Regions from separate parts of the Homo sapiens genome. Here all the other regions are linked to region 2. The links are contacts of gene promoters, found by promoter capture Hi-C in blood cells and fetal thymus (Javierre and others, 2016). All regions are on one chromosome and are shown on one strand. Each heading gives the region's core, a stretch centred on a gene start or on the middle of the fragment in contact. The rest is flanking DNA. Distances are from core to core; before and after follow the strand shown.

The links. Contacts are between HindIII fragments. The CHiCAGO score rates a contact against its expected background, and 5 or more counts as called.
Region 1: a fragment that was not itself captured here is called in contact with the fragment with the promoter of CAHM in region 2 in 1 of 17 cell types (neutrophils); the score reaches 7.2 in neutrophils.
Region 3: a fragment that was not itself captured here is called in contact with the fragment with the promoter of CAHM in region 2 in 1 of 17 cell types (fetal thymus); the score reaches 8.0 in fetal thymus.
Region 4: a contact is called between a fragment that was not itself captured here and the fragment with the promoter of CAHM in region 2, in 1 of 17 cell types (total CD4 T cells). The highest score is 5.2, in total CD4 T cells.
Region 5: a contact is called between a fragment that was not itself captured here and the fragment with the promoter of CAHM in region 2, in 2 of 17 cell types (fetal thymus and non-activated CD4 T cells). The highest score is 8.0, in fetal thymus.
Region 6: a contact is called between a fragment that was not itself captured here and the fragment with the promoter of CAHM in region 2, in 1 of 17 cell types (fetal thymus). The highest score is 5.7, in fetal thymus.
Region 7: the fragment with the promoter of ACAT2 here is called in contact with the fragment with the promoter of CAHM in region 2 in 2 of 17 cell types (fetal thymus and naive CD8 T cells); the score reaches 8.3 in fetal thymus.

What each region holds. Positions count from the first base shown.
Region 1 is chr6:166,942,324-166,946,048 of GRCh38, reverse strand. RNASET2 (ribonuclease T2) reads left to right here. Exons shown (of 9, transcript NM_003730.6): 5 at 2,960-3,030. It also overlaps the pseudogene LOC105378119. Among named protein-coding and RNA genes, the nearest start is that of RNASET2, 12 kb to the left of the region's middle. The HindIII fragment of the contact is 5,816 bases long and covers 1-3,725 here.
Region 2 is chr6:163,411,548-163,415,635 of GRCh38, reverse strand. It overlaps CAHM (colon adenocarcinoma hypermethylated), which reads left to right and starts at 1,686. Exons shown (of 1, transcript NR_037593.1): 1 at 1,686-2,571. QKI (QKI, KH domain containing RNA binding) reads right to left here and starts at 918. Exons shown (of 8, transcript NM_006775.3): 1 at 301-918. The coding sequence starts at 442. LOC124901234 (basic proline-rich protein-like) reads right to left here and starts at 4,055. Exons shown (of 4, transcript XM_047419614.1): 1 at 3,927-4,055; 2 at 1,551-3,022; 3 at 968-1,387; 4 at 460-671. The coding sequence starts at 2,430. The coding sequence ends at 460. RefSeq lists silencers at 1-89, 290-339, 590-1,409, 1,500-2,279 and enhancers at 360-1,013, 1,014-1,666. The HindIII fragment of the contact is 4,236 bases long and covers 1-3,303 here.
Region 3 is chr6:159,731,436-159,735,466 of GRCh38, reverse strand. The region is part of intron 1 of WTAP (WT1 associated protein); the gene reads right to left. It also overlaps a transcript of SOD2 not described here. Among named protein-coding and RNA genes, the nearest start is that of WTAP, 5.9 kb to the right of the region's middle. RefSeq lists a silencer at 1,519-1,779. The HindIII fragment of the contact is 2,491 bases long and covers 1,058-3,548 here.
Region 4 is chr6:159,961,963-159,965,578 of GRCh38, reverse strand. No RefSeq gene overlaps it. Among named protein-coding and RNA genes, the nearest start is that of IGF2R, 5.3 kb to the left of the region's middle. The HindIII fragment of the contact is 1,080 bases long and covers 1,593-2,672 here.
Region 5 is chr6:159,687,258-159,690,933 of GRCh38, reverse strand. SOD2 (superoxide dismutase 2) reads left to right here. Exons shown (of 5, transcript NM_000636.4): 3 at 2,692-2,808. Among named protein-coding and RNA genes, the nearest start is that of SOD2, 4.1 kb to the left of the region's middle. RefSeq lists a silencer at 3,367-3,617. The HindIII fragment of the contact is 4,400 bases long and covers 1-3,676 here.
Region 6 is chr6:159,790,839-159,794,426 of GRCh38, reverse strand. MRPL18 (mitochondrial ribosomal protein L18) reads right to left here. Exons shown (of 4, transcript NM_014161.5): 2 at 3,301-3,487. Among named protein-coding and RNA genes, the nearest start is that of MRPL18, 2.2 kb to the right of the region's middle. The HindIII fragment of the contact is 2,847 bases long and covers 1-2,843 here.
Region 7 is chr6:159,760,021-159,763,876 of GRCh38, reverse strand. ACAT2 (acetyl-CoA acetyltransferase 2) reads right to left here and starts at 1,832. Exons shown (of 9, transcript NM_005891.3): 1 at 1,735-1,832; 2 at 824-958. The coding sequence starts at 1,789. It overlaps SOD2-OT1 (SOD2 overlapping transcript 1), which reads left to right and starts at 1,545. Exons shown (of 2, transcript NR_037166.1): 1 at 1,545-1,883; 2 at 2,241-3,619. It also overlaps a transcript of SOD2 not described here. RefSeq lists enhancers at 1-451, 2,520-2,579 and silencers at 1,860-2,009, 2,030-2,089. The HindIII fragment of the contact is 5,525 bases long and covers 1-2,629 here.

The DNA of each region.
Region 1 (3,725 bases), core at 203-2,702, 3.5 Mb before region 2:
GCCAACAGTTCCTGTGTGTAACCAGTATATACCAGGGTAACTGGACCTGGACCCCAGGGAGGGGGTGGTAACTGAGGCCTTCTTTAAAACGTGTGGTAGCATTGAAGGCTTGCGGGAGTTGTGGGTCTTTCCTAGGAATGGTACATTCCCCAAGGTCATTAGTTGCAAATCCATCACAAGTTCTTTTTTTCTTTTCTTTTCTTTTTTTTTTTTTTTTTGAGACAGAGTTTTGCTCTTGTTGCCCAGGCTGGAGTGCAGTGGCGCAATCTTGGCTCACTGCAACCTCCACCTCCCGGGTTCAAGCAATTCTCCTGCCTCAGCCTCCTGAGTAGCTGGGATTACAGGCATGCGCCACCATGCCCGGCTTATTTTGTATTTTTAGTAGACATGGGGTTTCCCCATGTTGGTCAGACTGGTCTCGAACTCCTGACCTCAGGTGATCCACCTGCCTCGGCCTCCCAAAGTGCTGGGATTACAGGTGGGAGCCACCGCGCCCAGCCCACAAGTTCTAATCCATATGGAATTGTTTTCTTTTTCCTCCCCGTGAAGACCTTCAGTGGGATGAGCCAAGAGGCTGGGGACTGCCGTGAGACTTAGAAGGGACACCCCAGAGCCTGGTGCTGTCTCTAGCTCCTCACACAGACTCTCCTCCTCTCCTCCGGGACTCACTGCAGGGAATGGTTTCTGGGGAGGCGTGATGAAGAGGCCACTTCAGGATACATTGAGTTTGAAGTGCCCTTGAGACCTCCAGGGGGTGACATAGAGGATCTTCAGGGTCAGAGGAAAGGTGGCTTTAGGCATAGTTAGCATGAGGATGGTGAATCAAAATGACAGGTGTGGGGATGGACATGGGTCTGTGGACATGGATGGGTGAGGAGTCAGGGCCGACAGGTGTGGACGTGGGTGGATGAGGGGGCAGGGCTGACAGGTGTGGACGTGGATGGGTGAGGGCAGGGCTGACAGGTGTGGACGTGGGTGGGTGAGGGCAGGGCTGACAGATGTGGACGTGGGTGGGTGAGGGCAGGGCTGACAGGTGTGGACGTGGGTGGGTGAGGGCAGGGCTGACAGGTGTGGACGTGGGTGGGTGAGGGCAGGGCTGACAGGTGTGGACGTGGGTGGGTGAGGGGGCAGGGCTGACGGATGTGGGTGGGCTAAGGGGACAGCGCTGACAGGTGTGGGCCTGGTGGGCAGAGGGGACAGTGCTGGTGGAGCCCCGTGTTAACAGCCAGGTGGAAAGGGGCATGTGTGCCTGCAGCTGGGAAAGGCGGAAACCCAGGAGTGGAGAGATTTGAGAAGAGGCACCGTAGGACTGCATATCCCCGGGGGGTCCAGGACAGGAAAGCTGAAATGCTTTTTGAGTGGGGGCGTGGGTGGGTCGTGGGTCTGTGGTGGTGTGAGCCGCTGCTCCTCAGAGTAGTCCTGGCTTCCTTGTTGTGTAGCAGTAGGAACACCTTTGCATTGTCCCAAACGGAAGTAGCCCAATTTGCACACTCAATCATATCGTGCCCTAGGACATCTCGGAGAGCTGATGGGGCTGAAGCCAGCATGGTGGGGCAGGAGAGGTGGGGTGGGGGGCTGGAGGGGAAGAGGAGGGGGACAGAGCTGCGCCCACACAGGCAGGGGCTGTGGGGTAGGGGCTGAGTTACAAATGGGCTGAGAAAAGGACCCTCATATAGGGTGCTGGAAAACAGGAGAAAGGGAAGGAAAGTGAAGTTATCCGAAGTTTGTTAAGCACCTTTTTACTGACCTTTTTGGGGTTTTTTTGGTGTAGAGGGTGTGTAGAAATAGAAAAGTAAACTCCAGTTCTGTTGGATTTAGCGCGACTGGTGCCCAGGCTGCCCAGCTCACACAAGCTCTTCTCTGGGAAAAGGAGAGCTTGTCCTTTGTTTGTTTGTTTGTTTTAACTGATGGTTTCGTTTTGTTTTTTTTTAAGATGGAGTCTCACTCTGTCGCCAGGCTGGAGTGCAGTGGCGCAATCTCGGCTCACTGCAACCTCCGACTCCCTGGTTCAAGCGATTCTCCTGCCTCAGCCTCCTGAGTAGCTGGGATTACAGGCATGTGGCACCGTGCCCAGCTAATTTTTGTATTTTTAGTAGAGACAGGGTTTCACCAGGTTGGCCAGGATGGTCTCGATCTCCTGACCTCGTGATCCGCCCGCATCGGCCTCCGAAAGTGCTGGGATTACAGGCGTGAGCCACCGTGCCCGGCCAATGTTTTTAGAACAGTTATAGGTTTACAGAAAAATTGGATGGAGATTACAGACAGTTCACTCCCTTCCCCCTCAACTCTCCCAATCATTAACATCTTCTATAGTGTGTTACATTTGTTACAATTAATGAACTGATACTGATACTTTATTATTAAATAAAGTTTAGCATTAACATTAGGGTTTACTCCTGTGTTGTGCGGCTTTGGACAAATGCAGGAGAGCAAGTCCCACCCAGTGTGCTCTGGAGCAGCCGCTGGCCCTAAACCCCCTGAGCCATACCTCCCCTTCTTCCTCCCCTTGAACCCCCAAGCAACCGCGAATCTCATTCCTGTCTCTTAAGACTACCTTTTCCAAATTGTCACGTCGTTGGAATCATACAGTATGTAGCCTCTGCAGACTGGCTTCTTGCACTTAGCAATGTATGTTTGCAGTTCCTCCAGTGTCTTTTCATGACTCGACGGCTCATTGGTTTTTGTTGCTGAAAATATTCCATTGTTTGGATGTACACTTTATCCCTTCACCTATAACAGCTTGTATTTTCGTGTGCAGTTTTATGATTACTCAAATTGCACTTGTAGATATATCTTAACAAACACTTCATACAAAATAAGCATAGGATTATTTTATTCACCAAAGTATTGTTAATTAGCAGAGCTCAATTCTTTGGTGTCAGTTTATCAAATTTACCTTCTAGGTTTTGAGTTTATTATTAAGAACCTGCGTAGACTTATTTTATTTTTTAATGCATAGGATCTTTTGCCAGAAATGAGGGCATACTGGCCTGACGTAATTCACTCGTTTCCCAATCGCAGCCGCTTCTGGTAAGTCCCAGCCTCTGATTGCTGTCTTGATTACTGTCTGAGCGGGTGTGGGGAGCGTGATGAATCGCTAGAAGTGGAAACTGTGTGGGAAGCAAGATAACAGAATCTGTCTTCTGGGGCTGAGCAGTTTGAACAACCTTTTATGAGATATGATTCTGTTACGGCATTTTTGGTGCCTTTCTCCAATGTATAAAAAATTGAAAGCAAGTGGAATTTACCATATAAGCCTGTTTTCTAACCTGTATGGTATTTATTACTTTGCTTTAAAACTTTTCTCGGCCAGTCACAATGGCTCGTGCCTGTAATCCTAGCACTTTGGGAGGCTGAGGCGGGTGGATTGCTTGAGCTGAGGAGTTTGAGACCAGCCTGGTAACATGACAAAATGCCACCTCTACCAAAAATTTAAAAGGTCAGCTAGATGTGGTATTGTGCGGCTGTGGTCCCGGGAGATCAAGGTTGCAATGAGCTGTGATCAGCTGGGGTGATAACTAGCCTAGGTGACAGGGTGAGACCCTGTCTCAAAAACAAAATAAAGATACAAATTTTCTCTTCTGAGGCTTAACAAAGTCCAATGCTTGCATATCTAAGAATTAGTCCATATCAGACAGGAGAGAATATTTCTTAAGGAAATTGTGCTCCTGTCTTCAAATACATTAAGAAAAAAGAGACCAGGCACAGTGGTTCACACCTGTAAT
Region 2 (4,088 bases), core at 437-2,936:
CCGAAGCTAGAGGGGCCGCAGGGCTCACCCCGCAGCCCTCCGCAACGCGCCAACTTGGACGCCAGCGGCGCGGGGTCCCGGCCGGGCAGGGGGCGTCCGGCACCGGCGGGTCCACCCCGGCCCGCCCGCCCGCCGCAAGCCCGGCCCGGCACCTCCTTTGTGCGCCCTCCTGGCCTCCCAGTCCCCCCGGCGCTCGGTCCCGCCCGGCCGTGACCTTCCCGCCCTCCCCACCATCCCAAGCGGGGAAAGGGGCCGCCCCGGCGGGGGTCGGGCCGGGGCCGGGGCCCTGGAGACGCTCACCTTCGTCCAGCAGCCGCTCGAGGTGGTTGAAGATCCCGCAGAAGTTGGGCAGGCTGCTCATGAGCTTCTTGTCGTTCATCAGCTGCATCAGGTAATCTGGGGTGGGCTTCGGCTTCTCCTTCGTTTCCATTTCCCCGACCATATTCCAGGCTCCGCAGCTCACTCCGCCCGCCGCCGCCGCCGCCGCCGCCGGAGAGGAGGGAGGGGCGGGGGCGAGCCCCGGCCGCGGGCCGCTCGGGACCCGGCGTCCCGCTCCGCGCCGGCTCCCGCTCTGGCTCCCGCGCCGAGCCCCGGGGCGGCCGGCACCGCGCGCTCGCCCGCCCCCCGCAGGCACTTTCCGCCCGGGCCCGACGCGCTCCCAGCCGCCGCCGCTCTCGGCCGCCCGGCTCGGCGCGTCCCTCACGAGGCCGGCGGGCGGGCGGGAGGCGGGTCTCGGCTGGCCGAGTGCGGGCGCGGGGCGCGGGCTGCTGGCGCCGGACGAGGAGGAGCCGGGGCCGCCGCTCGCTCGGCTGGTCGAGCCCGCTCAGCGCCGCCGCCGCCTGTGCCGCGGGCTCGGGGGGTCTCTCTGGGCTGGTCCCCGCCGCGGCGCCTCTGCCGCTGCCGCCGCGCTCCGACTGCGCTCCTCCTCTTCCTCCTCCTCCTTCTCCTCCTCCTCCTCCTCACTCACTTGGCGGCGGAGTTCGCCTCAGTTCAGGCGGCGCTGCCAGCGGCGGCGGCAGCAGCGGCGGCGGCGGGGGGAGGGGCAGCGGCGCGGGGAGGGCCGGGGGCGGGCGGCGGGCGGGGCCGCGCAGGGCGGCCGTTAGCGGGTCCCGGCCGGCGCGCTCCCGCTGCCTGCTGCCCGCCGCCCCGCGACCGGGGCAGCCGCCGGCGCCGCGCCCCCTCCTCCCTGCCTCCCCGGCGGGGCGGGCGACGGGGGCAACGGGAGTGTGACGGACTGCGGCGCTCGGCGGGCCTGGGCGCAAGGACTGGGTCGCCGCCGTGCGGGGCGCCCGGGGCGGGTGGGTGTGGGCTGCGGGGCCGACGGCCGCGGGGGGGGCGCGGGGCTTTCCACGGCACGGGGCGGGTGGGGCTGCGGGCGCGGTCGGGGCTGGCGCGGCAGGCGAGAGGAATTCCAGCGGGACGCGCCAGCGCTGCCTCCGCCTCGCCTCCCGTTACTATAGTTTTTTCAGAACCTCTTATCCACCCCGCAGAAGAGAAATTTTTTTTTAACGTCCTGTTGCTTCACGGGGGACTTTCGGGGTGGGCATCACGTGGCCCGACACGTAGCCGTGGGGCTCCAGAGCGCGTGCGCGCGTCGAGCCCGGTCGCCACGCCCCTTCCGAGGGTCGCTCCGCCCCCGTCGGGCCCCGCGAGCGCGCGGTGGGGGAGGGGAGGGCCCCGGAGCGCGCCTGCGTGGGGCGGGGGCGGCAGCCGACTAGGGGCTGGGTCTGGCCGTTTAGGGCCGGGTCTTGGCCCGTCGCCCACGGTGCGGAGGGCTGGTGGGCTTTCCTTGGCCGTCGGGCCCGCCACGGCGCGGGTCTTGGCTGCGGGGCGGAGGTGGGGCGGGAGAGCCGAGGATAAGAGTTTGAGGCTTTTCGAGGCGCGTGCCGCGGCGTCCGCCTCTGCGGGACTCTGCGCCGGGCGCCCTCGGCCGGCGCGCCCGGCTCCCGCTTTGTCGCCGAGGGAAGCACGCGCGACGCCCCTCCCGTCGCCGCCGTGGCTTCTTTCGGTGTTCGTGATTTGCTGAGAGGCTGGAAAGCAGCACGGCGGAGAGGAGCCTTGCACTCGCCAGGCGGGAAGCCTGCGCGGACACGCGTGCGCACCCACGGGGCGGCGGGCGGGCGTGGGGGGTCCGGGCCACGCGGGCGACGCGCCTCTAGGGAAGCGATCTTGTTGCACCTTCCCGTTATTCTGAAAGCAAATCGTAGCCAGACCCGAGCGCAGCGGCTTAGCAAATAATAAGGGGAGCGTCAGTCGTGCTCGAAATGCTTCCTTCGCGATGGCGTCAGTGTTCCGTGAGGGAATGAAGCCGCAGTAGGAAATAAAGAGGCTGTGCGCGTAGTCTGAAAAGCAGAAGTCAACATTTTTACAGATGAAGAAAGAATACGGAGGCAAGAGGTCTTTCTCTGCAGTTTGGTGGATTTCCAACATTTAGACTTGTTTGGAAGAATTTCCTCAGCTGCACCAATGAAGTCCTTGATCTATAGAAGTCGGCAGTCCCTAAATCTACGTCTGCATTTTGTTGCAAATCCTTTATAACATTCCATTAAAATAATGCAGAGTTATTTAATATCCAGTTGGCCATCGTGAGAGTAATTCGCGGCTGAGATTTTGTTAATCATTCTGTCTTCTGACTTAACAGTGAACGTAGGTGATTTTTTTTGTAAAATGTTGCTTCACATGAATTGTGAGAATCACCTCTAAGTTTGAATTGTACTGAAGGCACTATAAGAATTTCAAATGAACGCTGAGTAGCCAGTAGCCTTCTGGCCTTTTCGTTTAACAAGCACAGAGTTCGTTTTTAAAATTAAGTTACTTTGACAGAGGAAATGTAATAGCCTTGGTAGACAACATTAAAAATGTAACTGTCAGATGTTTTAAAGTCTCCAACAGCCGTATCTGTTTTAGAGCCATAGAATATTTACTTACTGAATTGCCTGTTTAAAGATGAACTTTCTAAATGCAGGGAATAGTAACTTGCAAAAAAGCTATGGTCTCTAAGTAATGAAGGCTGTTTCAGTACCTAGAAAAATCAAAATCAAGGTTTTGATGCTGCTAGTGTAAAAGATGCAATCCCCTTCTTAATGGCCTGCTTATTTATTAAGCTCCTAGGCACTATGCTGAATGCCCTACATGCATATCTCGTTTAATCATCAGTACAACTTGGGCTTAGGTTAGACTGTTATCCCCATTTTACAAATAAGGGGAAACCCAAGAAAGATGAAGTTAAGTAACTTGCCCAAGAATATAGCTAGTGAGTCCTGTGTCTGGGATTATAATCCAATTATATTTTATTCTAAAGCTTTTTTTTTTTTTTTTGCTTTTTTTCCTTGCCCTATCCTTTAAATCAGGTTGAATTTTATGACAATATTCCACCATTTTTGACCCATAGAAATGGCAGTGTCATAAGGCTCAACCACTTAAACCAGATTAAAGAACAATGATAGGCAATTTTCATTTCCTATGTATTAAATCACTTACGGTTACAGCATTTGATAATAGCTACTGTGTGTTAATTTTCTTTTTTTTGAAACAGAATTTCGCTCTTGTCACCCAGGCTGGAGTGCAATGGCGCGATCTCGGCTCACTGCAACCTCTGCCTCCCCGGTTCAAGTGATTCTCCTGCCCCAGCCTCCCGAGCAGCTGGGATTACAGGCATGCGCCACCACGCCTAGCTAATTTTGTATTTTTAGTAGAGACGGGGGTTTCTCCATGTTGGTCAGGCTGGTCTCGAACTCCCGACCTCAGGTGATCCGCCCCCCTCAACCTCCCAAAGTGCTGGGATTACAGGCGTGAGCCACGTGCCTGGCAGGTTACCTTTTCAAATCTATGTAGATCACCTCATTTCCTGACAGTCCCTCAATGGTTTCTTATCTCAAAAAAAAAAAAAAAAAAAAGGAAAGAAAGAAAAAATCCGAAGAGCTTACCAAGTCCTGCAAGACGACAGGTGTGCCCCTGGTGCATCACTGACCTTATGTCCTTCTCCTCCCACAGCCCACTTGGCTGCACCCCCGTGGAATCCGTCTGGATCCTTAAATATTCCAAGCATGCTTACCCTCCCCAGGACTCTGCCCTTGGTGTTTGCTCTC
Region 3 (4,031 bases), core at 1,054-3,553, 3.7 Mb after region 2:
TTACATATTTTAAAATATATGTTACACTGGTTGGGCGTGATGGCTCACGACTGTAATCTCAGCATTTTGGGAGGCTGGTGGGTGGATCACTTGAGGTCAGAAGTTCAAGACAAGTCTGGCCAACATGGTGAAACTCGGTCTCTACCAAAAAATTAAAAAAATTAGCCCGGCGTAGTGGCACACGCCTGTAATCCCAGCTACTAGGGAGACTGAGGCAGGAATCGCCTGAACCTGGGAGGCGGAGGTTGCAGTGAGCCGAGATGGCGCGCCACTGCATTCCAGCCTGGGCAACAGAGACTCCATCTCAAACAAACAAACAACAAAAACTCACATACACATGTATGTCACACCTTAATAAAAATATTCCTACAGTATTTAATTTTATGCCAAATATTTTGTATCTCAAAATTAGCTTCTTTATTATACAAAATTCACTTAACCCTGTTTCAAAGATAGGTTAATGAATTCAAGTAGGGAACACTTTATTATGCTGTTTTTTAGAACGAATGCTAATAGCAGGTATTATTCATTAAACTACAAATCCACACACAAAAAAAAGACAAAGAAAAAATGTGTAATAAACATAAACACCACATTAAAATACAAGGTTGGAAAAAAAAGTATACGACATGAAGAGCTAACCTGACAAACATAAAATCTTTATATAAAAATTCTATGAGGATTAAAAAATTGAATCAGGGTTCTGAGTACCAGTGCTCTTTTGAAAAAGCATCTAAATTGCATTTGGCATATTCATAACTTATACAAATTAAGTAATTAGTTCTTATACTAATTTAGTTTTTCCTATTCTTTCTTTCTTAAGAGATGGGGACCCACCATAGTGCCCAGGCTAGTCTTGAACTCTTGGGCTCAAGTCATACTCTCATCTCAGCCTCCCAAGTAGCTAGAACTACCTGTGGAAGGATCACGCCCAGCCCTAGTTATTATTTCTAATAGTATACTCATGAATCTTCCCTTACTTTAAAGTGTTTATGGTTTATTTTAATTACCCATACTTATTATAAATTCTAAACTACTAGAAATTTGACCAAAAGCTTGGTATGTTAAACTGAATTTTTTTTTTTTTTTTTGAGATGGAGTCTCACTCTGTTGCCAGGCTGGAGTGCTGTGGCATCATCTCGAAAGCTACTTGAGGCTGGTGTGGTGGCTCACACTTGTAATCCCAGCACTTTGGGAGGCTGAGGCAGGAGAGCTGCTTGAGCCTAGGAGTTTGAACCGAGCCCGGGCAATGTGGTAAGACCCTGTCTCTCATTAAAACAAACAAACAAAACACACACACACCAAGACTACTTGATTTCTCCCACTTGATTTTGAGATTCCTCAAAAGGAGATAATCTTCCAACAGCATGTTTTATACTACGTACAATCTCAACTCCACTTTATAAATGAAACATTCTAATCATACTGTTATTAAACCCTGGTTTTCAGATTAAGTAAATTGTGTTGAAGAAAGCAGAATTTAGAGGAAAAATCATAAATTGATCTTAGATTACTGGCTTGCTTCTTTCTCTGTTTAATCTTTTTTTTTGGAGATGGAGTTTCGCTCTTGTTGCCCGGGGTGGAGTGCAACGGCGCGATCTCGGCTCACCGCAACCTCCGCCTCCTGGGTTCAAGCAATTCTCCTGCCTCAGCCTCCCAAGTAGCTGGGATTACAGGCATGCGCCACCACGCCCGGCTAACTTCCTTGTATTTTTAGTAGAGACGGGGTTTCTCCATGTTGGTCAGGGTGGTCTGGAAATCCCGACCTCAGGTGATCTGCCCACCTCAGCCTCCCAAGTGCTGGGACTACAGGCATGAGCCAGCGTGCTGGGCTTTTTTTTTTTTTTGAGACAGTCTCGCTCTGTCACCTAGACCACAGTGCAGTGGTGCGATGATGGCTCACTGCAATCTTGACCTCCCAGGCTCAAGTGATCCTCCCACCTCAGCCTCCCGAGTACCTGGGACTACAGGCATGTGCCACCACACCCAGTTAATTTTTTGTAATTTTTTTTGGTAGAGACAGGGTTTCGCCATGCTGCCCAGGCTGGTCTCGAACTCCTGGGCGCAAGCAATCCAACTGCCTTGGCCTCCCAAAGTGCTGGCATTACAGGCGTGAGCCACTGCACCCTGCCTTCCCTCTTTAATCTTTCTCAAGGGATACAGCAAACAGATAAAAACCTCAGTATTTGTTTCTGAGCTAATTGTATACAGTCTGTTTCACTGAGCAAGTCACTCTGTCCTATGAAGACATAAACCATATTACTATGATATAAAATGTATATTATTCTTTTTTTCTTTAAATTGGTTCCTCCCTTGTTGCCCAGTTTATTATCTCTGCTGCCATTACAGAAAGCTGCTTTGTAACTACCTTAACCTGGTGGCAGTCATTTTAATCATCTCAGAAACCATCACCATATTTAACTCCACATGTCTAACTACTTCTATTTTAGCATGACACATGCATTAGGCTGCAAAGTCTTAGAACCCAGATATCAAATCTGGCATTTCCTTGTAATTTCCCATTTGTCTGGAGCTAAATATCAATTTTACACACACACACACACACACACACACACACACTATATATATATACAGAGAGAGAGAGAGAGAGAGAGAAAGAAGCAGACAGAGACACTCCCCCTCCCCCTGCGCCCGGTCTCTGTTGCCCAGGCTGGAGTGCAATGGCGCGATCTCGGCTCACTGCAACCTCCACCGCCTGGATTCAAGCGATTCTCCTGCCTCAGCCTCCAGAGTAGCTGAGATTACAGGTGCCTGCCACCACGCCCGGCTAATTTTTGTATTTTTAGTTTCACCATGTTGACCAGGCTGGTCTCGAACTCCTCACCTCAGGTAATCCACCTGCTTTGGCCTCCCAAAGTGTTGGGATTACAGGTGTAAGCTACTGCGCCCGGCCAATAATATTTTTAATTTAAAAAATCTTAAAGACAATTTTAGCTATTTGAGCTGTACATATTTAACCGGTATATCAGTATCTGTATCTATGTATATACGAACATAAAATTTTGAGAACCAACCAGGAACTTCACGTAACAGGTACTGTGGTAGAGATCTGTGAATGACAGTTTGAAAACAGCTATATTTATCACTATGGCTAGGTGGTATACCTTTTATCTAGTTACTAAGGCATCCTACCTACTCAGTATGTACAACTTTAGTTGTAATACTAAAGTATCATGGATGCTGTTCAATATAAATTCCAGCTTATAAAAGTTATTATAGTTGGTCCTTGACCAACCCAGGTTTTAGCTGCATGGGTCCATTTATATTTGGATTTTTTTCAATCAAACTCAGATTAAAAAATACAGTACTCGGATCAAAAATACAGCATTCACGGGATGCGAAACCTGAGTATGCAAAGGGCAGACTTTTCATACACCAGGGTTCAAATTCCTATGCCAGGATTTTGGCAAGGATCATCGGTATGTGGTTCTACAACCTGATACTTTCCCTAGGTTTACTTGCTTACTCTCTTCTTAAAGACAGGTATCCATATTCTTATTCCACTAAAATAAAATTAACAGTAAGCTTAGCAAAAAATGAGATGATAATCTGTTTTTAAAGGGCATTAAAAGGACTGAGAAACACATGAAGAAAGTTCTGATAACCTTGGTATTCTGAAACAGGTTGTCAACTTTGCAAATACAAAAGTAGCAAAATCTCTGCACCTCAGTTTCCCCATCTCAAAAAGAATTACCACAACCAGGGCCCAAATACTGTGCTATTTCTGAAGACAGACATTAATCTTTAGCATGGTAACTGGCACAAAATGGGCATTTAATTAATAGTTTCTTCTCCCCATCAAAAACACAGACTCAGTGTTTCTTGAAAAACCTGAAGAGATAATCCACAGGTTGAGGATAATAATCATACTGTCCTCCCGACTGTTTCTAACACTTACTGCAGAATTCTTTGGCATCTCCAATATTTAGGATTCTAAACAGAAGTTACTTAAATTTTCTTTTTTTCCTCTCTTTTTTTGAGACAGAGTCTCACTCTGTCGCCCAGGCTGG
Region 4 (3,616 bases), core at 883-3,382, 3.5 Mb after region 2:
GGGGACTCCTGCTGTAAAGTCAAATACTGCAGGGCATAATTCTCCTGTATTTCATTTAAATTTTCTGAAAAACCTTTGAGGAAGCAGAGACTCACAGATATCAGCCTAAGACCCCCTGTTATAGGCTGAATTGTGTCCCCTAAAAGAATACGTTGAACTCATAACCCCCAGTACTTCAAGTGTGACCTTATTTGAAAATAGGGTCATTCCTTATGGATAAATTATGATGAGGTTATACTAGAGTAGGGTGGGTTCTTAATCCAGTATGACTGGTGTACTTTCAAGAAGTGGGCAAGAAACACACAAGGAGAAGGCAGCCATATGAGAATGGAGGTGCTATGCATCTACAAGCCAAGGAACACCAAGGATTGCCAGCAACACCAGAAGCTGGGACAAAGGCATGGAACAGATTCTCCCCTAGAGCCTTCAGAGGGAGCGTGACCCTGCCAATGCCTTGGTTTTGGACTTCCGGCCTCCAGAACTGTGTGAGACAATTTCTGTCATTTTAAGCCACCCAGAGGTACTTTGTTATGGCAGCCTAAGAACACAAATAGCCAAGAACACAAATGTCCCTCAAATGATAGGACAGATCCAGGCTTGGCATCCAGGTGCTCCAACCACCGCCCTGTTGTGAGGACCCAATCTTCCTGCATCTGACTTTGGAAACACAAGCTCAAATGACAGACCAAGGGCAGAAAGAGCAGCTACTGAGGATGTCCCTGCATGATGTCAAGAGCAATAGCAGGGACAGGTAACACTAATAGCTGCCCCTTTGGAACACAAACCATGAGCTATCAAACTGATGGCATGCACACATTGTTCTGAAACTCAAACAGAATCTCACCCCAAAGATCCAGGAACTTTTTAGAACACCCAGAAAGGAACATGATTCTACCAAAAGACCCTCAAAACACACAGTGATTCATTTTAGGCTTCTTGATTTCTAAGATCATAAACTGCCAAGAAAAAATGTACAGTAAATAATATTGAATCAATGTTAAATTTCATAAGATAAAGCTACTGTGATTACATAGGACGATGTGCTTGTTCTTATGTGATACATGCTGAAAGTGAAGTGTCATGATGTTGGCAACTTTCAAATGATTTCAGGGGAAAAAAAGAATATATGTATGAATAGCAAGCAGAGGTTAAAAATATTAACAGTCACAAATGTAGTGAAGAATATATCAGTGCTCTTGTACTATTCTTTCAACTTTTCTATAGGTTTGACATTTTTCAAAATGAGAATTGGGAAAGAGATCTCATCATGAAAGAGATTGCTTTTGAGTGAATCTGGAAGAATGGGGGAAATTTAGGGAAAGGACATTGTAGGCACAAAGAACAGCAAGTGCAAGGCCATGGTAAAATACAGAAGCTGTATTTGCTGTACAAGGCCTTTTGCTTAAGCAAAAGTCACATGGGAATAAAGAAAAACTACTTTTGGCCAAAAACTGTGCTAGATCCTGGGCTCATAAAATATAATCCCTCCCTCAAGGAGCTCGCAGTTTAGGACGTAGTCAATTTTTATATAAGTTTGAAAATTTTTATTGTGCCCAGCTCCTAGAGGATCTTAAATGGTCATCTAATAAGCTTAGATTTGGCTGGATATGAAGTAGGGAACAATAACAGCAGATACAATAATACATACTGAAGGCTCACTGTCAATACCATTCCTGTATTATATCATTTACTGTTAATACCAATCCCACCAAATAGGTAATTTTATTACCCTCCTTGAAAAGATGAGCAATTCAGTCATAAAGAAATTATATACCTTGCCCAAGGTCATGCAGTTGGTAAGTGACAGCGCTTGGATGTGAGCTGTATGATCTGGGACCAAAGCCCATGCAGTTAACTCATCAACTGCCTCCTCATTGAGAGATTTGGAGAAAGAGAGATGTTCACGGTGACACATCAGGAAAATCCATCTGGTTTTAAGATAGACTGGAAGCTAATTTATTAAAAGTATCACAATTAAGGTGACAAATTCGACAGCAGAAAGCCTTGTGTCCTTCAAAAACACCCAGTTCCCAGTTAGTTAACACCTGGCCAGGTAACTATCAAAGATAATGCCCTAAGGCTTTGGCATGGGAATTTAGAGGGGAATAGGGTTAGAGGCATGAGGCAGGTGTGGTTGGCTGCCTTCCTGCAGGCATCTCATGCCCTTGATTGCTGGCAAAGCCCACCTCCACCAGAGGCTGTGGGTGTGAGATTCTCACTTCCCAGACATTCTTACAGCCAGAGCAAGGGCGTATGACCCAGTCCTGATGATGGAACTCGATGGGAAGTCTCCTGAGATCTTCTGCAAAATGCTTTCTCTCCAATAAAAAGAGTTGCAAAACAGAAATCCCTTCCCCTTTTGTGTTTTTTTGTTGTCTGGATGCAGTAATTTCTATATGAAACTGCTGTCCCCTCATAACTGTGAGGGAAAATGTGGCCAACACAGTGGGAACAAGACGGAAGACATCAGGATCCTGAATGACACTGGTCCACTTCACCAAAACTCTTGTATCCGATCTTTTGTTTTGTGATAGAATAAATAAATATGCCTAAGCCAAGTGCATGTGTTATTAATGTATTGCCTCTCTGCTTTGAATGCATCTTCTAGTATATGCTCTGTGATAAAGGAATCCATTTAAGCAGTTCTCCTTTCAACTAAATGACATTAAGCTTTCTGAGCAGAGGACACTGGAGGCAAACTGCAGAAGAGATTCTCCTGCTGTTCCCAGGACATCCATACCATGAGGTGCTGACCACCTGCTCCCCAACTTGCATACTAGTGCAGGCCAGCTCCAGCCTGGCCAGTCTGCTATCCAATAAATGGAAACAAACCTTTTCCCATGAAATCTGAATGCCTTCAGATCTGAAGGCTTGTCATTCCTTGAGTCCTCTCCGTCAGCCTGAGGGACTATGTAGAGTTTTCTTACATCTTACAGTTACTCCTTCATCATAGTTAGTAATTATTTATATTAAGACTCCCCTGTTTCTACCTCCTGATTGGCCCCAAAATGCCACACCATGATTAGCTAACTTTTGTATTTCTTGCAGCCAAAATCATACCAACTGACCCAATGCAGCACTTAGCAACCTGTTGGGTAGGACAGACAGGAAAGAAAGAGTCAATGATGATCAACGCTTGTAGACAGGTAGATTGGTTCCAGAGAACAGAGAAAACAGAAGAGAAATGAATCTGAGGAGCAAGACGCTAAGTATCTTTTTGTGCAATAGCAAGTCTAGGTATTCAGAGGTGACCACTAGACAACTGGTAATGCAACACTGAACACAGGCAGGAAGCCTGCATTGAATGTAATTATGGGGAGGCACTTGCAAAGATGGGAGAGTTGACTTGGGAGGAAGGTGATGAGAAGGATAACAAGACATTGGCATAGTGAAAGAAATTGCCAGGGAGAGAACAAAAGAGAAAATAGGCTCTTAGTATTAACTGTCTATCAGTGTGTAATAAATTACCCTCAAATCCAGTGGTGTAACACAACAACCATCATTTATTAATTCTCACTAGTGAGAATTAATGGGGTCAGGAATTTAGACAGGGTCCAGTCGGAATGGCTCATTTCTGTTTTAAGACTTCTGGGCCCTCAGCTTTAAGACTTGAAGG
Region 5 (3,676 bases), core at 783-3,282, 3.7 Mb after region 2:
ATTTTTCAACAAAAAGCATTTGACTTTTATTATTATTTGAGGCAAAAACTAAACTGAAACCAAATAAAATGTTGAATTTCAGAAAAGTGTTCTTAAAAGCAGATATTAAGCCCTCAATTTTTATTAATTTTAAAATGAGTAAGCAAACTGTAAGATGTTAAGATTATTAAATTATCTCTCATTAAGCATGTATCTTTCCCATTTTAAAAATTCAGTTACTATTGATTTATTAAAAAACAATAGAAAAGTTACATCTATTTTTAGAGTGACTCTCAAGAAAATTTAATAAGGGAAACACAGATCTATAAAAAACTGTTTGTAAACCTAACAAAGGAAAAAAAAAGTTGGTGTCTTTAAAAAACCCTTTGAGATTAGCTGTGTATTCAGATATCAGTTGGTTCTCTCCTTTCTGAATCGCTAAACAACTGGAGCTTGTTTCAGAAAGCAGCATTGTCTACGTATGTTCCTTTTAAAAATTTTTTTTTTAATTCTGTCTAAAAAAAACAGACGGGGTCACACTATGTTGCCCAGGCTGCTCTTGAATTCCTGGGCTCCCCTATCCACGCACCTCGGCCTTCCAGAGTGCTGGGATTACAGGTGTGAGCCACCGTGCCTAGTCAGACATACTTTTTTTTTTTTTTTTTTTTTTGACGGAATCTCAGTCTGTCCCGCAGGTTGGAGTGCAGTGATGTGATCTCGGCTCACTACAACCTCCGTCTCCTGGGTTCAAGCAATTCTCCTGCCTCAGCCTCCTGAGTAGCTGGGATTACAGGCGTACGCCACCACGCCTGGCTACTTTTTGTGGGTTTTTTAGTAGAGACAGGGTTTTTCCATGTCGTCCAGGCTGGTCTGGAACTCCTGACCTCAAGTGATCCGCCCATCTCAGCCTCCCAAAGTGCTGGGATTACAGGCGTGAGCCACCTCACCTGGCCTTGTATGTATGTTTTTTTCTTTCTCTTTCTTTTTTTTTTTCTGTGACGGAGTATTGCCCTGTCGCCCAGGCTGGAGTGCAGTGGCGTGTTCTTGGTTCACTGCAACCTCTGCCTCCTGGGTTCAAGCCATTCTCCTGCCTCATGCTCCTGAGTAGCTGGGATTATAGGCACGCGCCACCATACCTGGCTAATTTCTGTATTTTTAGTGAAGACAGGGTTTCACCATGTTGGCCAGGCCGGTCTTGAAATCCTGACCTGAAGAGAGCTGCCCGCCTCGGCTTCCCAAAGTGCTGAGATTACAGGCGTGAGCCACCGCACCCGGCCCAGACATATGTTCTTAACGTACACTTTCAGAACAGCAGTTGAGAACTTTTTCCAAAATGTAAGCTCCTTGAGAGCAAAGCTCTCAGTGGGTCTCTGTGTCCTTTACTTTGCTTCTCTTGGTATCTTGTGGATAATATGCACAAAATATTTATTAAACAAGAGGATTTCCATTTTTTTCTAATATTAATAGTTCATTTAGTCTGTAGCTTCTTGAAGGCATAGAAAAGACTATTTTATTTTGCCTACTTATTTGGCAAGGTACCCATGCAGTATGCCAGGAGTTACAGGGCCTATTGAGAAGGAGTAAAGGGTCTGGGAGGGGTGGCAGGGAGTTGCTAATTCATGTATGGTGGCTAGAGAAGGCTTCACTGATGGGGTTGATGTTTCAGTGGAGACTTGAAGGAGGAACAGGAACGCAGCATGAGACTGTCTTGGGGAAGAGTGTTCAGCAGAGGCAGCAGTGCTCAGCTAGCCTTGAGGGGAACATCCAAGTTGGTCATGTGAGTGCAAAAAGGCCAGTGAGGCTGCAGCTGCGTGAGCACGTGCTCAATGACGGGGTCAAGTGCAGCGCCTCTTGGTAGTAAGAGTAGCTGAGTGTAAACACCTAGGGTTCGCTCCAGTGAGAAGGGGAGCCTTTGGAGGGGGCAAGGCCCACCCCCACCCCCCAAAACTGAGGGGATAGTGGCACCAGTGCAGTGAGAAATACTGGTCCTCTGTCCCAATGAGGTGGCAGTAGAGTTAGGGAGAAGGGATTAGGTTCTGCTTGTGTTTTATTTTTTTCTTTTATTTTTCTCTGTGTGCTTTTATATAGATTGGATGTATTTTAAAGGTAGAGCTGGCTTTGCTAATGGATATGCTGGTGGATTGGATGTGGGGTGAAGGGAGAGGAGTCAAAAATGACATCAGGTTCCCAAGGATGTCCTGAGGGACAGAGCTGGCATTTACTGAGACGTGGAGGACAATAGGAGGAGTAAGTTTGGGGTAGAACATCAGGAGTTCAATTTTGAGTATGTTGAGTTTCTTGTTAATGTGACTTGGAGATATTTCCCAATGAATCGTCGTCTGTCTTGAAAGTGAGAGTTGAAGGTTTTCTGTACAGTCTGTATGTTGAGCCATACATTTTAGCATTCTATTATTTTGATTGTCCTCTTTGGTGTTTCATTTCCTAAAATCTCTTCTATCTAAGAGATCCCTGAGCCTAGCAGCCAGGAGTGAATTTTCTAGCTTTTCCACCTCTGCTAGGTCCTTCATCAGTTGTTCAGCATGTCTGGGACAAATAATTTTGGGGCGGGGGGGTGCTGAATTTTAGGACAAACGGATGTTATAGATAAGCTGGTCCCATTATCTAATAGCTTACAAAGAAAAAAATATAATGTATACAGTGGTTGAAAAAGTAGGAGTTACAAAAAAATGTGTTTGCATTTTAACTTTTCAGGAGATGTTACAGCCCAGATAGCTCTTCAGCCTGCACTGAAGTTCAATGGTGGTGGTCATATCAATCATAGCATTTTCTGGACAAACCTCAGCCCTAACGGTGGTGGAGAACCCAAAGGTTGGTATATATTGGTGCACCCTTATCTACATTTTGTGCACAGTAGGAATCGATTGTTGATTTACTGAAGTTACCTTATACTTGTTTTTTGTTTTTTTTGTTGTTGTTTTTTTGAGACAAGAGTTTTGCTCTTGTTGCCCAGGCTGGAGTACAGTGGCGCAGTCTTGGCTCACTGCAACCTCCGCTTCCTGGGTTCAAGTGATTCTCCTGCCTCAGCCTCCCAAGTAGCTGGGATTACAGGCGCCCGCCACCACGCCTGGCTAATTTTTGCATTTTTAGTAGAGATGAGGTTTCATTCACCATGTTGGCCAGGCTGGTCTTGAACTCCTGACCTCATGATCTGCCCACCTTGGCCTCCCAAAGTGCTGGGATTACAGGCATGAGCCACCGTGCCTGGCCTAAGTTACCTTATTCTTACCAGAGGTATCATAGTGGCATATTTTTCATAACAACGAGTATGATAAAAGTTGTAACTTTCAAAAGGACACAAGTAGGAATGGAGAATGCTTTCATGGGGTTATGTCATAAGATTTTATGTTCACGCCAACATAGAATATCACATCAACTCCACCTTCTGGTTTCTGGATGGTACTTCATATTAGGGAAAGACTGAGAGACTTCATTTTATGAACTTTTTTTTTTTGAGACGGAGTCTTACAGTCGCCCAGGCTGGAGCGCAGTGGTGCAATGTCGGCTCATTGCAACCTCCGCCTTTCAGGTTCATGCAATTCTTGTGTCTCAGCCACCCAAGTAGCTGGGATTACAGGCATGTGGCATCACTCCCGGCTAATTTTTATATTTTTGGTAGAGACAGGGTTTCACCATGTTGGCGGGGCTGGTCTCGAACTCCTGGCCTCAAGTGATCCAC
Region 6 (3,588 bases), core at 171-2,670, 3.6 Mb after region 2:
TCTCAATTCTATTATTTTTTCTATATTTTTTTTTAGCTGCAGAAACTAACACAGAAAGGTTAAGTAACTTGAAAAAGATTAAAACTAGTAAGTAATGGAGCCATGGTTTAAGTCCCAGTGTCTGGCTCCAGAGTCAATGCTCTTAACTACCATGAAGAATCTCCAAGATGTATTTTTAAGTGCGTGCTTGGGGTGGTTGAGGGTGGTGGTGAAGAAAGATGCGGAAGTGTTTATCGTATGCTAAGATTTATTGTTTTTAACAGTTTTTGCTTATATGCATAGACAATCTTTAGAAGGACACACAAGAAACTGTACTCCCTTTGGATTTTATAACATACGTATATGTTACCCTTTAAAAAGTCAAGTTTAAGTTAAAGAAAACACACCCAAATCATTAGATTCTCACTAGGATTCTCAATGTGAAATAGAAGAGGCATTAGATTTGGAAATATGGAGTCTACTCCTGGTTTTCCTGGTGGCTCTAGTAAAAAATCACAATCTCTTTTTTTTTTTTTGAGACGGAGTCTCAGTCTGTTGCCCAGGCTGGAGTGCAGTGGCGCGATCTCGGCTCACTGCAAGCTCCGCCTCCCAGGTTCACGCCACTCTCCTGTCTCAGCCTCCCTAGTAGCTGGGACTACAGGTGCCTGCCACCACGCCTGGCTAATTTTTTTGTGTATTTTTAGTAGAGACGGGGTTTCACCGTGTTAGCCAGGATGGTCTTGATCTCCTGACCTCGTGATCCGCCCGCCTCGACCTCCCAAAGTGCTGGGATTACAAACGTGAGCCACCGCGCCCGGCCAAAAATCACAATCTGTTAAACCAGGAGTCAACAATCTTTTTCCACAAAGTGCCAGATAGTAAATATTTTAGGCTTTCTAGGTCCAATAGCTTCTGTTGAAACTGTTCGACTCAGCCATTGTAGTGCTAGAACAGCCAGGTGATGCGTAAACAAATGAGAGTAGGTACAGCTAGGTTCTAAGAACCTGGGCAACGAAATTTGATTTTCATTTAATTTTCCCAAGCCACAAAATATTCTTTTGATTTTTTTTTTAACTTAAAAAAAGTAAAAACAAGTTTTTAGCTCACAATCTACCTTTGGCCCACGGGCCGTAGTTTGCTGACACTTGAACCATTTGTTCAATGAAGGGCCCGATTCATTATGTCAAAGGTCATTTCCTACTATAATATTCTGAAATTCTCTACTTTTAATATTGCGAGTAAGGCAGACAGAGAAAAAATGAGGAAATACATCTTTAGTTATTTTTAATGATCCAAATATTAAATCAAAGTAATGCGTTGGGGCCGAGTGCAGTGGCTCACGTCTGTAATCCCAGCACCTTGGGAGGCTGAATCAGGCAGATCTCTCGAGCTCAAGAGCTCGAGACCAGCCTGGGCAGCAGCAAAACCCCATCTCTACAAAAAATACCAGAAAAAAAAAAAAAGAAAAAGAAAAAAATTAGCCGGCCATGGTAGTGTGTGCCTGCAGTCCCAGATGCTCAGGAAGCTGAGATGGGAGAATCGTTTGAGCCTGGGAGGCAGAGGTTGCAGCCAGCTGATACTGTACCACTGCACTCCAGCCTGGGTGATAGAGCCAGAGCTTGTCTCAAACAAAACAAAACAAATTAGCTGGGAGTAATGGCATGCGCCTCTAGTCCCAGCCACTCAGGAGGCTGAGGTGGGAAGATTGCTGGAGCCCAGGGAAGTCAAGGATGCAGTAAGCAGATATCATACCACTGCATTCTAGCCTGGGCAACAGACCCAGACCCTGTCTCAAAAACAAAGAAAAAAGAAAGTAATAGGTTGGGTGTTTCAAAAGATTTTTAGCCTTAAGATCCAGATTATTTAAAAAGTGAACTGCCTACTCCCTTTCTTGGACTCCCTCCTCTATGAGTAAAAATGTATTACAGCAACTGTAACACATCATTATCCCCATTCCACTTTCCACTATGAAACTTAAGACTTTTGATGACAGGGATAACATCTACTTTATCTTTGTAACTCCTGCCTCTAACGCAATGCCTAGCAAGTGATACAGGTATGATGCTTGTTCAATAAATAAATAATACATCACACAGTAATGATTTCCAATTTACTCTTACAACTTTACATAGTACTTAAGAAGTCCTTAAGAAATTCTAAAAAATCCTCACCAAGCAGATAAGCAGCAGATAAACCTGATAAACACTTACATGCTGTAGTATAGTGGTAATAACCTAGCGTCCTGGCTCTGAGGTCAGTTAAAACATATGTAAATCTTAGCTCTGGCACTTACTAATCATGTCTCCCTAAACCTCAATTTCTTTGATCCTGTAAAATGGGGGAAATTATAACTGCTTCATGATGTAATTTTAAGGATTAAATGAGAAAAAACATATAAAGCAAGTAGCATAATTCCTGGCAAATGTAAGTGTTCATTAAACAACCACCTTTATAACAAAGTATCTCAAGTCATACTAGACTCCTAACTGGTCTTTCTTCAAGTCCTGCTCCCTCAAAAATTTAATCTTCCAAAAAGCAGCTAAAATGATTTTTTTTTTTTTGAGACAGAATTTTGCTCTGTCGCCCAGGCGCTCAGCTCACTGCAACCTCCGCCTCCTGGGTTCAAGTGATTCTCGTGCCTCAGCCACTGGAGTAGCTGGGATTACAGGCGTGCACCACCACGCCCCTCTAATTTTTATATTTTTAGTAGAGACGGGGTTTCACCATGTTGGCCAGGTTGGTCTCAAACTCCTGACCTCAGATGATCCGGCTTCTTCGGCTGGCTCCCTAAAGTGCTGGGATTACAGGCATGAGACAATGCGCCCAGCCAGAATGATCTTGAAAAACCAATTCGGGCTCAAGCTTTAAATCCTCTCGTAGTTTCCCACTATAATGAAAAGAAAGTCTAAAGTGCTCATCTTGACTTACAAAGCTAATCATCTGTCGCCTCCTTACCCCTCCATGTTCATCTTGGGCCATTCATCCTCTGCCCATTGAGCTTCAGATCCACAAGCCCTTCAGTTCCTCACCCCAGCAGTTTCCTTTGCTAGGACTGCTCTTTCTGGCAGATGACTAGGCTTCTTCCTCTTTCAGATCTCACCTTCTTAAATGTCACCTCAGACAGGCAGGTATCCTGTCCGCTACTGTAACATCCTCTTTAAATAGCCCCCATCACACCTATTTGTTGTTTGTTCCAGCCCCTCCGCGAACCCTGCCTCTACCCGCCGCATGGCAGCTACCTGGGAGAGTGCCTGGAGTTGAATGAATGAAAATAGTCTGTAGGGTGCACTGCCCTTGTCAATCACAAGCAGATTTAATTACCTGTGCCAGAACTCACGGGAGGGAAACACCGTCCGCCAGCCCCGCTCTTTCCTGGCTACAGATAAAAGCTCCAGGTTCCGGGGGTTCCGGTTGGTGAATTCTGGGGCGACAGCTTCATTTTCCACAGGGTCCACTTCAGGTTTCGCTGCCGGCTCGGAGCTGGTTGACAGGGCTGCGAACCTGCACCCTGGGCAACGGGAAAAACCGCACAGGGCTTAAAAATGACGGATATGGACAGCGCACGAACCCGCTCTAACGTCTATCCGCTTTTACACCCCCAATCTTTAG
Region 7 (3,856 bases), core at 583-3,082, 3.7 Mb after region 2:
GCCCACCTCGGCCTCCCAGAGTGCTGGGATTACAGGCGTGAGCCACCGGGCCCGGCCGGCCCTGCTTCGTAAGAATGAAAAGGCAGTGGGCCGCCTGTAGTCCCAGCTACTCGGGAGGCTGAGGCAGGAGAATGGCGTGAAACCGGGAGACGGAGCTTGCAGTGAGCCGAGATCACGCCACTGCACTCCAGCCTGGGCCACAGAGAGAGACTCCGTCTCAAAAAAAAAAAAAAAAAAAAAAAAAAAAGGAAAAGAAAAGGCAGTGTAGGTGGTGTAGGTCAGTGGTCTAAGTTCATTCACAAAAAGCATATTAATGAAGCTAAGTCTTTTTGTTTGTTTAGAGAAGGGGTCTCACTCTGTCACCCATGACGGAGTGCAGTGACACAATCACTGCAGTCTCAAACTCCTGGGCTCAAGTGATCCTCCCACCTCAGCCTCTCCAGTAGCTGGGAGGCACAGGCCATCATACCTGGCTATTTTATTTTTTGTAGAGACGGGGTCTTGCTTTGTTGCCCAGGCTAGTCTCAAACTTCTGGACTCAAGTGATCCTTCCTCCTCCGCCTCCCAAAGTGCTGGGATTACAGGCGGGAGCCACCCTGCCTGGCCAAGAAGCTGAGTCTCAAGCTGGATAGAAGCTACTGACAGGGCTGGAAGAAGGGGGCCAACAGGAGGAATCATAACAGAGGGAACTCTGAGCAAAAGCAAGGAGGCAAGAACTTGAGTGAGTGAGAGAGTGTGTGAGTGTGTGAGAGTGTGTGTGTGTGTGTGTGTTTATGGGCTGTTTCTAATAAGCCTGACTTCTCCTGGAATCACTGAGACTTACCTGCTGCCAAGACATGTCCAAAGATGACCTCAGACACATCTTCCGGAGCCACAGTGGCCCTCTTCAAGACTTCTTTGATGACAGTGGAGCCCAGGTCCTGGACAGGAACAGCAGCTAAGGCACCATTGAAGGAACCTACAATAGAAAGGCGGAGAGCGTGGACATCACAAGCCTGCGGGTAATACGGGAACCACCTACGAGCAGGGGAGCCTCATGACCCTGTTTGGCAAGGCCACGCGAGGAGGCAGTGCCCTCTCCTCCCACACGTTCCTACACCTGCTGGTCTGAGCAAAGGTCAAGGTGGGTGCCACAACTCGCAGCAGCCGAGGGCTGGACAGGCGACCTCCAGAACGGCCTAGGGACGCCGCTGTAGCCCTTCTATTTCCCCAAATCCGAAGGACTGGATGCGACCCCATGCTTCCCAAACAAAAGGAACCGGCGGGTCAAGGGCGTTGAAAACCATGCGGCACGAAGGAGACGAAGTCACGACTTCTAGCCATTGTGTGACAGCCCGACCCCAGCCCAAAGCCGGGCTCAGACCACCTAGCAGTTCCGCCCCTGCCGCAGGCATTACCGATGGCGCCTCCCGGAGCCGGCCAATCAGGGGCCCCGGAGGAGAACACCTCCCTACGCCAACCAATGGGAGAGGCAGGCCACGCGATGGCTCTACCCCGGGAGCCAATCCAAGCACGAGGGACGGAGTGCGCACATCGGGAGAGGAGAGGGTGGGGCTGTAGCACCAGGTCAGGGAACGCGGGAGCCGCAGGGTTCCAGGGATCCCGCGGCTCCTCGCGGCTTGGCCTGACCGGCTTCCTCCACATACGCCCCTCTCCTACACAAGTCCGGCCCTCGGCGCTCCTGCCGAAGCAGCAGGCGCCTCGGACTCTGCGCGGCTCCCGCCGGCCACTCACCTATGATGGTCCGCGCCGCCGAGACGATGACCACAGGATCTGAGCCTGCATTCATCTTGCTTCTCCTGCCGCCGTCTGCCCTGCGCTGCCTGCAAGCTAGGCAAAGCTCCTCCTCGCAGCCCACAGGCCTGCCGCGGGCGGGACCTGAGGTAGCCCCGCCCCTCGCCCTCCACCTCCCCGCGCACCACCTCCCCGCGCATCCCACTGTGCGCAGGCGCAAGGCCGGAGCAGGGGCGGGCGGAGGCGCGCGGGGCGCGGGGCGCGGGGCGCGGGGCGGAAGTGAGGCCGGGGCGCGGGGCGCGGGGCGGAAGTGAGGCCGGGGTCTGGGCTTGCGGGCAGAACCGCGGACCTCGGACGCATTTACAGAGCGCCTGAAACCCCAGTGTTTCTGGACACCCCAATGTTGGAGTTCCCCGACTTGACGTCTTGGGCTTTTTTTTAAAAAATCTTAGGGTTTCTCGAAACAGTAAAGACTGGGGGGTGACAAAGACTTATCTCTCGTTCAGCTCAGGACTGGAATCCCACGGGCGAGAATCTCGAGTGCGAGCCCGGCCCGCGGCGGGTCTCAGCACAGCTCTGATGGGTCCTTTTGCTCTCGGCGGCTTCGGGAGGTCCTATGCGTTTCTCCTGGCGCCAGTCATTCGCTCGCGTGAGGGGCTTGCTAGGAGCGTCTCGGTGCGAGCCCCCTGCCTTCTAAGATCAACTCTGGCTGTGAACGGGTGAGGACGCCGGGAGCGTCTTAGCGTCACAAAAGTTCCTTTGGTTGACGTTTGGACAGTGAAAGGAGCATGTAACAAGTGGGGTCAGTTTTGTTTAAAACCCTTTCTGACTTCCCAGCCTCTTACTGGGCAAAGTTCATAATTTTTCTGAGCTTTCTAGGGTTTCCAGGCAAGCTTATGAGGGGCCACCGTTACAGCAACTTGTTGGGAACACCTGGATAGTGGAACAAGAAAGCTTTGTCACAAAGTCATGAAGGGGAAAACTGTTGACGGACCTGGAGAATCTTCCTGAAGAACTTTAAAGTTGATTGAAAGAATCATTAAATCCTGGAAACCTACATTAAGACTTTGCAGAGATATGCGGATGGGTCAGATAAATCAGAGAAGGTAAAGAGTGTAGGCCCCAGAGGTGGGGCAATAGAGAAGGAAAAAAATTGCATAACAGTGCAATTTCAGGAGAAATCTTTAGGGTCTGGAATAGTGGTGAAATCAGCTGTCTACTCTGCTAAGAACTCAGCAGCACACTGAAGTCTCTTCAGTTGTCTTCAATGTGTTTCCTGTCCCCTAACATATCTGAGTCCAAGGAATTCAAGGAATGCCTCCCGTGGCTTTTGCTCTATTCTATCCCATTTTCCCCTTACTCCCTGGCCACTTCTGAGTCTTTGTGGGCTTACTCTCACATCCCCTTAACATGTTCCCCAAGGCTCCTACTTTGCACCAGCTCCCTGGGTAATACCAGTCATTCCTACGGCATCAATCACCACCTGTATACTGACAAGTCTGAAATCCTTACATCTAACCTCGTCTCCTAAGCTGACTGACCCTCTTCATTTAAATTCTTACAAGCACATCAGGTCGGGCACCTTGGCTCACACCTGTAATCCCAGCACTTTGGGAGGCCGAGGAGGGCGGATCATTTGAGGTCAGCAGTTTGACACCAGCCTGGCCAACATGGTGATATCCCGTTTCTACCATAAAATAGAAAAATTAGCCGGGCGTGGTGCCGTGCGCCTGTAATCCCAGCTACTGGGGAGGCTGACATGGGAAAATCGCTTGAACCTAGGAGGCAGAGGTTTCAGTGAGCCGAGATCACACCACTGCACTCCAGCCTGAGCGACAGAGAGAAACTGTCTCAAATAAATAAAATTTCCTATAAGCACATCAAATTTGACATATTGAAACCAAACTCTTCCAGCCTGTTTCTTCTGTAATCTCAGTGAGCAGTGAAACTATCTTCTGTTAACCAAACCAGAAATTTACCTCTGAAACTCCCCCTAAACATCACTTCTTCCAGAAAAACCTTCCAATCTCCTGCATTTGGTGCAGCATCTTACCCCTAACTTCCTCTTTCAACTTACCATGTAATTCCTAGTTTATCTGTCTCCTCTACTGACTACATAAGC